Linked DNA regions of Homo sapiens: region 2 is linked to region 1. The links are contacts of gene promoters, found by promoter capture Hi-C in blood cells and fetal thymus (Javierre and others, 2016). All regions are on one chromosome and are shown on one strand. The core of a region is centred on a gene start or on the middle of the fragment in contact, and the rest is flanking DNA. Distances in the headings are between cores, read along the strand shown. Region 1 holds the start of NFKBIA (NFKB inhibitor alpha). Region 2 overlaps SNX6 (sorting nexin 6).

The links. The method cuts DNA at HindIII sites, captures the fragments that hold promoters and counts their contacts. A CHiCAGO score of 5 or more calls a contact.
Region 2: a contact is called between a fragment that was not itself captured here and the fragment with the promoter of NFKBIA in region 1, in 1 of 17 cell types (total B cells). The highest score is 7.3, in total B cells.

What each region holds. Positions count from the first base shown.
Region 1 is chr14:35,403,499-35,407,545 of GRCh38, forward strand. NFKBIA (NFKB inhibitor alpha) reads right to left here and starts at 1,251. Exons shown (of 6, transcript NM_020529.3): 1 at 920-1,251; 2 at 192-300. The coding sequence starts at 1,146. RefSeq lists enhancers at 1-52, 83-132, 1,237-2,108, 1,313-1,712, 3,690-3,749 and silencers at 333-922, 1,073-1,242. The HindIII fragment of the contact is 3,306 bases long and covers 1-1,897 here.
Region 2 is chr14:34,599,246-34,603,789 of GRCh38, forward strand. SNX6 (sorting nexin 6) reads right to left here. Exons shown (of 14, transcript NM_152233.4): 6 at 4,103-4,226. Among named protein-coding and RNA genes, the nearest start is that of SNX6, 29 kb to the right of the region's middle. The HindIII fragment of the contact is 6,636 bases long and covers 1-4,544 here.

The sequences.
Region 1 (4,047 bases), core at 1-2,500:
CCAGGTGGGTCATAAAGACCTCACCAAATCAGTGGAATTTCCTTCACTCTCTAGGATGTGGGCTGATGTGAAGTAAAAGGTGAGGGTAAATAGTGCTCAGTGGCCCTGAATTCAGAAAGGATCTGGGGTGACTCTGCTACATCAGCTACGTCCCAGGGTCAGAGAGAACCCGGGCCAGGCAAGCGGCGCACCTGCTGCAGGTTGTTCTGGAAGTTGAGGAAGGCCAGGTCTCCCTTCACCTGGCGGATCACTTCCATGGTCAGTGCCTTTTCTTCATGGATGATGGCCAAGTGCAGGAACCTGTGGGGAAGAGAGGGAAAAACCCCAGGGGTGGTGAGTGCACCGCGTGGGGCCCAGGGAGGCGCGGGCTGCGGGGGATTGCGCAAGGCCGGGGTTTCTGGAGGCCGAGGCCGCGGTGTTTTCCGCGAGGTTATTATGAGCTGAGTGTTCCTGGCAGGCGCCCAGGGACTTTCCGCCCCCCTCCCCCCGCGGCCCCGGCGGGCGCCGGCCAGACCGCCCCGCCCTCCCGCCAGCTCGGAACGCCCTGTACTTCCCCTCCCGGCTGCTCGGCGCCCGCCAGCGGCCAGAAACTCCCGCCCCGCCTTATGCAACCGGGGACTTCGCGTCCCCGCTGCCGCCCCGCCCCCGGCCTAGAGGACGGGTCTGGGGGGAGGGGGCGTGTGGCGACGCTGCCATCCACCAGGGCCCAGCCGCCGCCCCTCCGAGTTGGGCCGGTGCCCCGCGCGGCCCTGCAGCCCTGCAGCGTTCGGGGCGGTGCAGGAGCCCCGGGGTGCCGCGGCGCCCGCCCGGCTGCATCGCTGGTCCCCCGGCTCGGGCTCCAGGCCCGGCGCCTCCCACCCCCAGGCCGCGCGCGTCCCGCCCTCCCGACGACCCCCAGCCCCGGGCCTCCGCCACTTACGAGTCCCCGTCCTCGGTGAGCTGCTGCTTCCAGGGCTCCGAGCCGCGCGGCACCTCCTGCGGCTCGAGGCGGATCTCCTGCAGCTCCTTGACCATCTGCTCGTACTCCTCGTCTTTCATGGAGTCCAGGCCGCTGTCGTGGCGGTCGTCCAGTAGCCGCTCCTTCTTCAGCCCGTCGCGGGGGCCCTCCATGGCCCACTCCTGGGGGCGCTCGGCCGCCTGGAACATGGCGCGGACGAGCTGCGGGCGCTGCTGCGGGTGCGCTGGGCCGCGGGCTGCGCGCTGCTTCCTCGCTGGGGCGCTGGCGGGCGGGACGGCGGCACGGACTGCTGTGGGCTCTGCAGCGCCGCCGCGGCGCCCTATAAACGCTGGCTGGGGATTTCTCTGGGGCGGGGTCAGGCTCGGGGAATTTCCAAGCCAGTCAGACCAGAAAAAGAGAACTGGCTTCGTCCTCTGCTAGGGGGAAAAAGAAGCCTAAACCCTGAGCTGGGGTTCATCGGAGAAACTCCCTGCGATGAGCCACTAGGGTCACGGACAGGGAACTTTTTGATGAGCGCCGAGTGGCTGGAAAGTCCTTCCGACCAGGCCCCCTCCCCCCGGTACTTCCCTGCAGCCTGCACCCTGTAATCCTGTCCCTCTGCAAGTGAGCCTTCTTTCCCTGGGGTTTCCCACGATCGATTTGAATTGGGGTCGTCGGCTGCTGAGATCCCAAGGACGCCGACCTGATGGGCGGTCCCTCTTTGGGGTTTGCCAACCTGCCGGTCCTTTCCGTTTTTTGATCTTTTGAAAACGCAAGAGTGGAAATGATGGCTGGGCGTAGGGATTTGCTTTCCCCAGACTTCTAAGGGGAAGGACGCACTGTGGTTAGGGGGCTGCAGGCCGCGCCGGTGTTTCTGCCTATACCAGGCTCTTTGCAGCAAAGGAACTTTTAGCTTCGCCCCCACCCCCCCACGCACCCCCGCCAGGTAGAAGTTGTGAAAGCTTTGGAGGAGTGAAAAGCCTAAATCCTTGGAGAACTCTCAAATCACTTCCTAGGGATGAACAGCCCTGTTGACTGGGGGAGGGGCAAACGCTCCCTGTATGGGGAAACTGCTGAATAGGACCATGATTTTTTTTGTTTCCCAAGTAAAGCAAGGTGTTAATGTTTGTAGTGGTGGTTGTGGATACCTTGCAATAGCAGAGTAGCTATTGTGTTCATAAGTAGCTATTCGTTTATGCTATCTGACCTACATTGTGCTCCCGCAGAAAAAGGATCGTGAGCCTACTTCTGGGCACCCAAATTCGAGGAGAACTTAGAGAAGGAGGCTGAAGAATGAGTTTAGTTAGTGCCTTAACCGCGATTGGACCTTAAGGACCACTAAGAAAGTAGTTGCCAGGCATCCTGCGGGAGGCTCAAGGTAGTCCCATCCTGCCCGCCCCTCCTTGCTCTCTTGTCCTGGGGGACAGTAGCAGTTGGACCCATTCACGCCACCTGGGTAGAAAGGGGTTTCGGCTCACTATGCTCTGGTTTCACCTGCAGAAATATAATTTATGCTCTCCACTCCACCTCCACCTCCAAGCCTGCAAGCCATGGACTGAATTCATCTACTTGGTAGAATTGGTACAGGCAAAATAAAGCAAACTTCGGTCAGAGCTCTTCAGAATTAGTCCCAGGAGGCCTCTGTAGTTCTGCAGAGATTTCTGGTGATTATTGCAATCATCTTTACCTTGACTGGCCTTGTACTAACCAATCCTTCCCCTCTCTTCGTATCTCCACCCCTCCCCTAATATTAGAATGAAAGAAATCTGACTCGATAGAGAGAGACCAAGTATGAAGGGAAAAAAATTAAAATCAGATAGACCCTCCAGGGTAATAATGATCACATGTTACAATGAAAACTTCCCAGGGATAGACACCATTGTCTCTGCAGGTTTATGATATGCAAATCTACAATGATTGAGGCAAGGTGAAACAGTGACTGCAATGGGACATCTCAATTCCAGGTTCTATCTTTACTTGACTGCACATTAGTTGGAGAGGTCAGTTAACTTTTTTGTGGTATACTTAACTTTTATAATAAGATTAGATTGAATGTTACTTAAGGTCTTTTCTAGCTTAAAAGTCATATTGCTTGTCTACAAATGCATGCCTAACTCTCCTTTGTAAGGGTGACCATGGCTCTTGGAAATGTCAGGGTATAAATTTTTGAAAGAATTCCAGCGCCTTATGTACCACATTGTTCTCAGAACTAATCTTGTAAGATAGATATTGTTCCTACTTCCCTAAAAAGAAACTGAAATGCATAGAAATTTACCCAGGAACCCCTTGGCAGTATATTAATCATTTGGCCAAAGCAGTCTTAGTATTAACACTTTTGAAAACACGCTGTGAAAATCAGACTGACTACACTATAATTTGGAATGTACTCAAAAGTATTTTCTACTCCAACTGTTAGGGAAAATAAAGGGTGGGTGTCCCCTGACCCCCATCTGGGGATAGTCACTTCTTTTAAACAAGTACAGAAACATCAAACTCTAAATGTCCCAATTATAGAGGATACATCAGAAGAAGATATTTGGCTTCAGGTATAAAAATGGTTATAAAAAATAAAAATATCTGAGGAATAAGGTTTTTTTGCACCACCTTCTATGGTTTTATATTTCTGGTAGCCTTCAGGATCTTGGTGTTTATTCCTGATTGTTTTGTGTGACACCTAGTGGTAAGAGTAAGGCACAGGCGTTCCTTGATTTGTCATAGTGCCTTTTGCAAAAATTGGGAGGTGCTGAGCCTTGATGACTTGTCCCTACAGTGGAGATTTCCAAGGAGGTACCTATTGTTTTCCTGCGACTCTGGGAAACAGTTTTGAATAATGTGATCCAACAGGTTTTCTCCCCATCATCTATAGCGCTATATGGTTTAAGTCAACAAACATTACAACGTGGGTGAAAAAGAATATACACTTGGAAATTAGAACCATGAGCAGACTGGGCAGAAGACAACAAGAGGGTCTGGTTTTGATTTAGAAAGACCTTTATGGGCCAGGAGTTGTGGCTCACTGCTGTAATTTCAGCACTTTGGGTTGCTGAGGCAGGAGGATTGCTTGCCACCCAGGAGTTGGAGACCAGCCTGGGCAACAAGGCTAAACTCTT
Region 2 (4,544 bases), core at 1,516-4,015, 800 kb before region 1:
ATTTCCTTACACAGAGACTGTAACTGTAACCTCACATTAGATGAGTCTAACACAGTGCTCATTATAATCTAATCTCTGGGCTGGGCACGGTGGCTCACGCCTGTAATCCCAGCACTTTGTGAGGCCAAGGCGGGTGAATCACCTGAGGTCAGGAGTTCAAAACTAGCCTTGAAGAACATGGTGAAATCCTGTCTCTACTAAAAATACTAAAACTAGCTGGGCGTCGTGGCATCCGCCTATAATCCCAGCTACTAGGGAGACTGAGGCAAGAGAATCTTTTGAACCCAGGAGGCAGAGGTTGCCATGAGCCAATATCACGCCATTGCATTCCAGCCTGGACAACAAGAGCGAAACTCTGTCTAAAAAAAAAAAAAAAAAATTAGCCGGGCATGGTGAAATGTGCCTGTAATCCCAGCTACTCGGGAGGCTGAGGCTGGAGAATCGCTTGCACCTGGGAGGCAGAGGTTGCACTGAGCGGAGATCACACCACTGTACTCCAGCCCGGGCAACAGAGCAAGACTCTGTCTCAAAAAAAAAAAAAAAAAATCTGATCTCCAAAATTTCTGTCTTCCCTCTTTTGATCTGTGGCCCCTTCATCCAAACAGTCTTTCTGACTCCGACATGTTCCCTAAAATTCCATAGTTCTCATTAAAATCTTGAAATTTTTATAACTTCTTCCTTTCTTCATAGCTCAAATTCTAACAGCAAATGACTTAAAACTGTCCCTTTCCACTCCTACTCTCCAGTAAAAGTCTTCATCATCTCTTTCCTAGACTGAAGTATTAGTTAATAATTCTTATCTTATTCCAATCCATTCTGTTGCCTGGGACAGCTTTCTAAAATCAAATTTTGAGCATCTCATTCTTACTCAAAAATTTTAGTTTCTTTTCTCTTTTTTCTCTTTTGAGACAGAATATCACTCTGTCACCCATGCTGTGGCACAATCTCAGCTCACTGCAGCCTCCGCCTCCCACATTCAAGTGATTCTCATGTCTCAGCCTCCCAAGTAGCTGGGATTACAGGCAAGCGCCACCACGTCCAGCTTATGTTTGCGTTTTTAGTAGAGACAGGGGTTTCACCATGTTGCCCAGGCTGGTCTTGAACTACTGGCCTCAAGTGAATACCTTGCCTTGGCCTCCCAAGTGTTGGGATTACAGGAATGAGCCACCGCACCCGGCATTTTTCTTTCTTCTTCTTCTTTTTTTTTTTTTTAAAAAGAGACAGGTCTCACTATGTTGCCCAGGCTGGTCTCGAACTCCTTGGCTCAAGCAATCCTCCTGCCTCAGGCTCCCAAAGTACTGGGATTAAAGGTGTGACTTACTACAACTGGCCCAAATTCTTTGATCTTGAGGTTAACCTGTACATGAGCACTATGCTATATTTATTTTCTGCAAAAATTATGAATTAATCTTGTCATCCAAACACAGGTTCCAAGATTTGTATCAGTCATTCAGTAAAAAATTTTTTGCCAGCACTATGAACGAAGAAATCTTTAAAGTGCAATCACCTCGGCCAGGCATGGTGGCTCACACCTGTAATCCCAGCACCTTGGGAGGCCGACGCAGGCAGATCACCTGAGGTCAGGAGTTCGAGACCAGCCTGACCAATATGGTGAAACCCTGTCTCTATTAAAATATAAGAATTAGCCAGGTATGGTGGCTACTCGGGAGGTGGAGGCAGAGGAGTCGCTTGAACCTGGGAAGCAGAGGTTGTACTGAGTCGATACAGTGCCATTGCACTCCAGCCTGGGCGACAGAGACTCTGCCTCAAAAAAAAAAAAAGAGAGTTTTTAGGCAGGGAAGGAAAAAATAAGGAGTGATCAGCACCAATGGTCAGTTAAACAGATCCAGAGTCAATAATTTACCCGAATCTGGAATTCTTTAGCTCAATCACCTCCTTGGAATTCTCCACAAGGCTTCGGAAGACTCCAAACTCAAATTTAAGAAACATTAGTCAATGTGATAACCCTATTTCTTTTTTTTTTTTTTTTTTTTTTTTGAGACGGAGTCTCGCTTTGTCACCCAGGCTGGAATGCAGTGGCGCAACCTTGGCTCACTGCAACCTCCGCCTCCCGGGGTCAAGCGATTCTCTTGCCTCAGTCTCCCGAGTAGCTGGGACTACAGGCATGCGCCACCAAGCCCAGCTAATTTTTGTATTTTAAGTAGAGACGGGGTTTCACCATATTGGCCAGGCTGGTCTCAAACTCCTGACCTCGTGATCCGCCCACCTCGGCCTCCCAAAGTGCTGGATTATAGGCTGAGCCACCGTGCCTGGCTCCTACTTCTTAAGAGGTTTGCAATTAAGGATTACAAAAAAAATCAGTGTCCCTTGTAGTAACATGATTTATTTTTTATTTTTATTTTTTGAGATGGGAATTTCAGTCTTGTCCCCCAGGCTGGAGTGCAATGGCACCATCTTGGCTCTCTGCAACCTCCGCCTCCCAGGTTCAAGTGATTCTCCTGTCTTAGCCTCCCGAGTAGCTGGGATTACAGGCGCCCACCACCATGCCCAGATAATTTTTGTATTTTTAGTACAGATGGGGTTTCACCATGTTGGCCAGGCTCGTCTCGAACTCCTGACCTCAGGTGATCTGCCCGGCTTGGCCTCCCAAAGTGCTGGGATTACAGGTTACAGGCATGAGCCACCATGCCTGGCTAGTAACATGCTTAACTATCATTCTGTCAATTAATCTACTCAAGTTCTACTGAAATAACTGCATTACTACTGAAAAAGTGTCACTTAAACTACCTTGAAAAATACAAACAGGCCAGGTGCGGCTCACGCCTCTAATCCCAGCACTTTGGGAGGCTGAGGCAGGTGGATCACCTGAGGTCAGGAGTTCGAGACCAGCCTGGCCAACATGGTGAAACTCCATCTCTACTAAAAATACAAAAATTAGGCCGGGCGCAGTGGCTCATGCATGTAATCCCAGCACTTTGGGAGGCTAAGGTGGGAGGATCACCTGAGGCTGGGAGTTTGAGACCAGCCTGACCAACATGGAGAAACCCCGTCTCTACTAAAAATACAAAAATTATCTTGGCATGGTGGCGCATTCCTGTAATCCCAGCTACTTGAGAGTCTGAGGCAGAAGAATTGCTTGAACCAAGGAGGCAGAGGTTGTGGGTGAGCTGAGATCGCACCGTTGCACTCCAGCTTGGGAAACAAGAGCGAAACTGTCTTAAAAAAAAAAAAAAAATTAGCTGGGCATGGCGGCATGCGCCTGTAGTCCCAGCTACTTGGGAGGCTGAGGCACGAGAATCACTTGAACTTGGGAGGAGGAGGTCACAGTGAGCCAAGATTGCGCCACGGCACTTCAGCCTGGACGACAGAGCAAGACTCTGTCTCAAAAAAAAAAAAAAAAAGAAAAATACAAACATTCTAAAAAAAGACCTTGAGCCTTTTCTAACTACTCTTGCCTTTTCCAATGACTCTTTAAAAAGAGAACTTGGGGCCGGGCACGGTGGCTTATGCCTGTAATCCCAGCACTTTGGGAGGCTGAGGTGGGTGGATCACGAGGTCAGGAGATCGAGACCATCCTGGCTAACACAGTGAAACCCCGTCTCTACTAAAAATACAAAAAATTAGCAGGGCATAGTGGCGGGCGCCTGTAGTCCCAGCTACTCGGGAGGCTGAGGCAGGAGAATGGCATGAACCCGGGAGGCGGAGCTTGCAGTGAGCTGAGATGACGCCACTGCACTCCAGCCTGGCTGACAGAGCGAGACTCCGTCTCAAAAAAAAAAAAAAAACTTGGGCTGGGCGCTATGGCTCACGCCTGTAATCCTAGCACTTTGGGAGGCCGAGGTGGGTGGATCATGAGGTCAGGAGATCGAGACCATTCTGGCTAACACGGTGAAACACCATCTTTACTTCAAAATAGAAAAAATTAGCTGGGCGTGGTGGCAGGCGCCTGTAGTCCCAGCTACTAGGGAGGCTGAGGCAGGAGAATGGCATGAACCCGGGAGGCGGAGCTTGCAGTGAGCCAAGATCATGCCACTATGCCACTGTACTCCAGCCTGGAAGACAGAGCGAGATTCCGTCTCAAAAAAAAAAAGAAGAAGAAGAAGAAAAAGAAAACTTGACCACCAATCAATGTGATACTCACATCTTGATTATATTCCAAGAAGACATGGAAATTTAAATCTCTTCTCAAAATAGGATGTGCTGCCACACGACACAGGAACACTTCATGCATCGCAACTGTCTTCTTGAATATTGCCAAATATTCACTAGAAACAATATACAAAATTAAAGGTAAAAAACTCCATCAACTAAAAAGTCACCTGCAACAATTTTTTTCAGAAAATACTCTTTGGATTATTCCGAATGCAAATCAGAGATACAAAGATATAATTCATGTAAACAAGGTTTTTAGTTGAACTGTTAATGAAATACATAAAACCCAGCTTTGAAAAAGGTTTCATGCCAGTTAATAATATTTATATCTAAATGTTAATATTTTTAAGTTTTACAAATTTTTCTTACTTATGCGAGTTGATGTTAAAGTTAACTATAGGGCTGCTTGTTCTCAGCTCTACAGGAAGTGT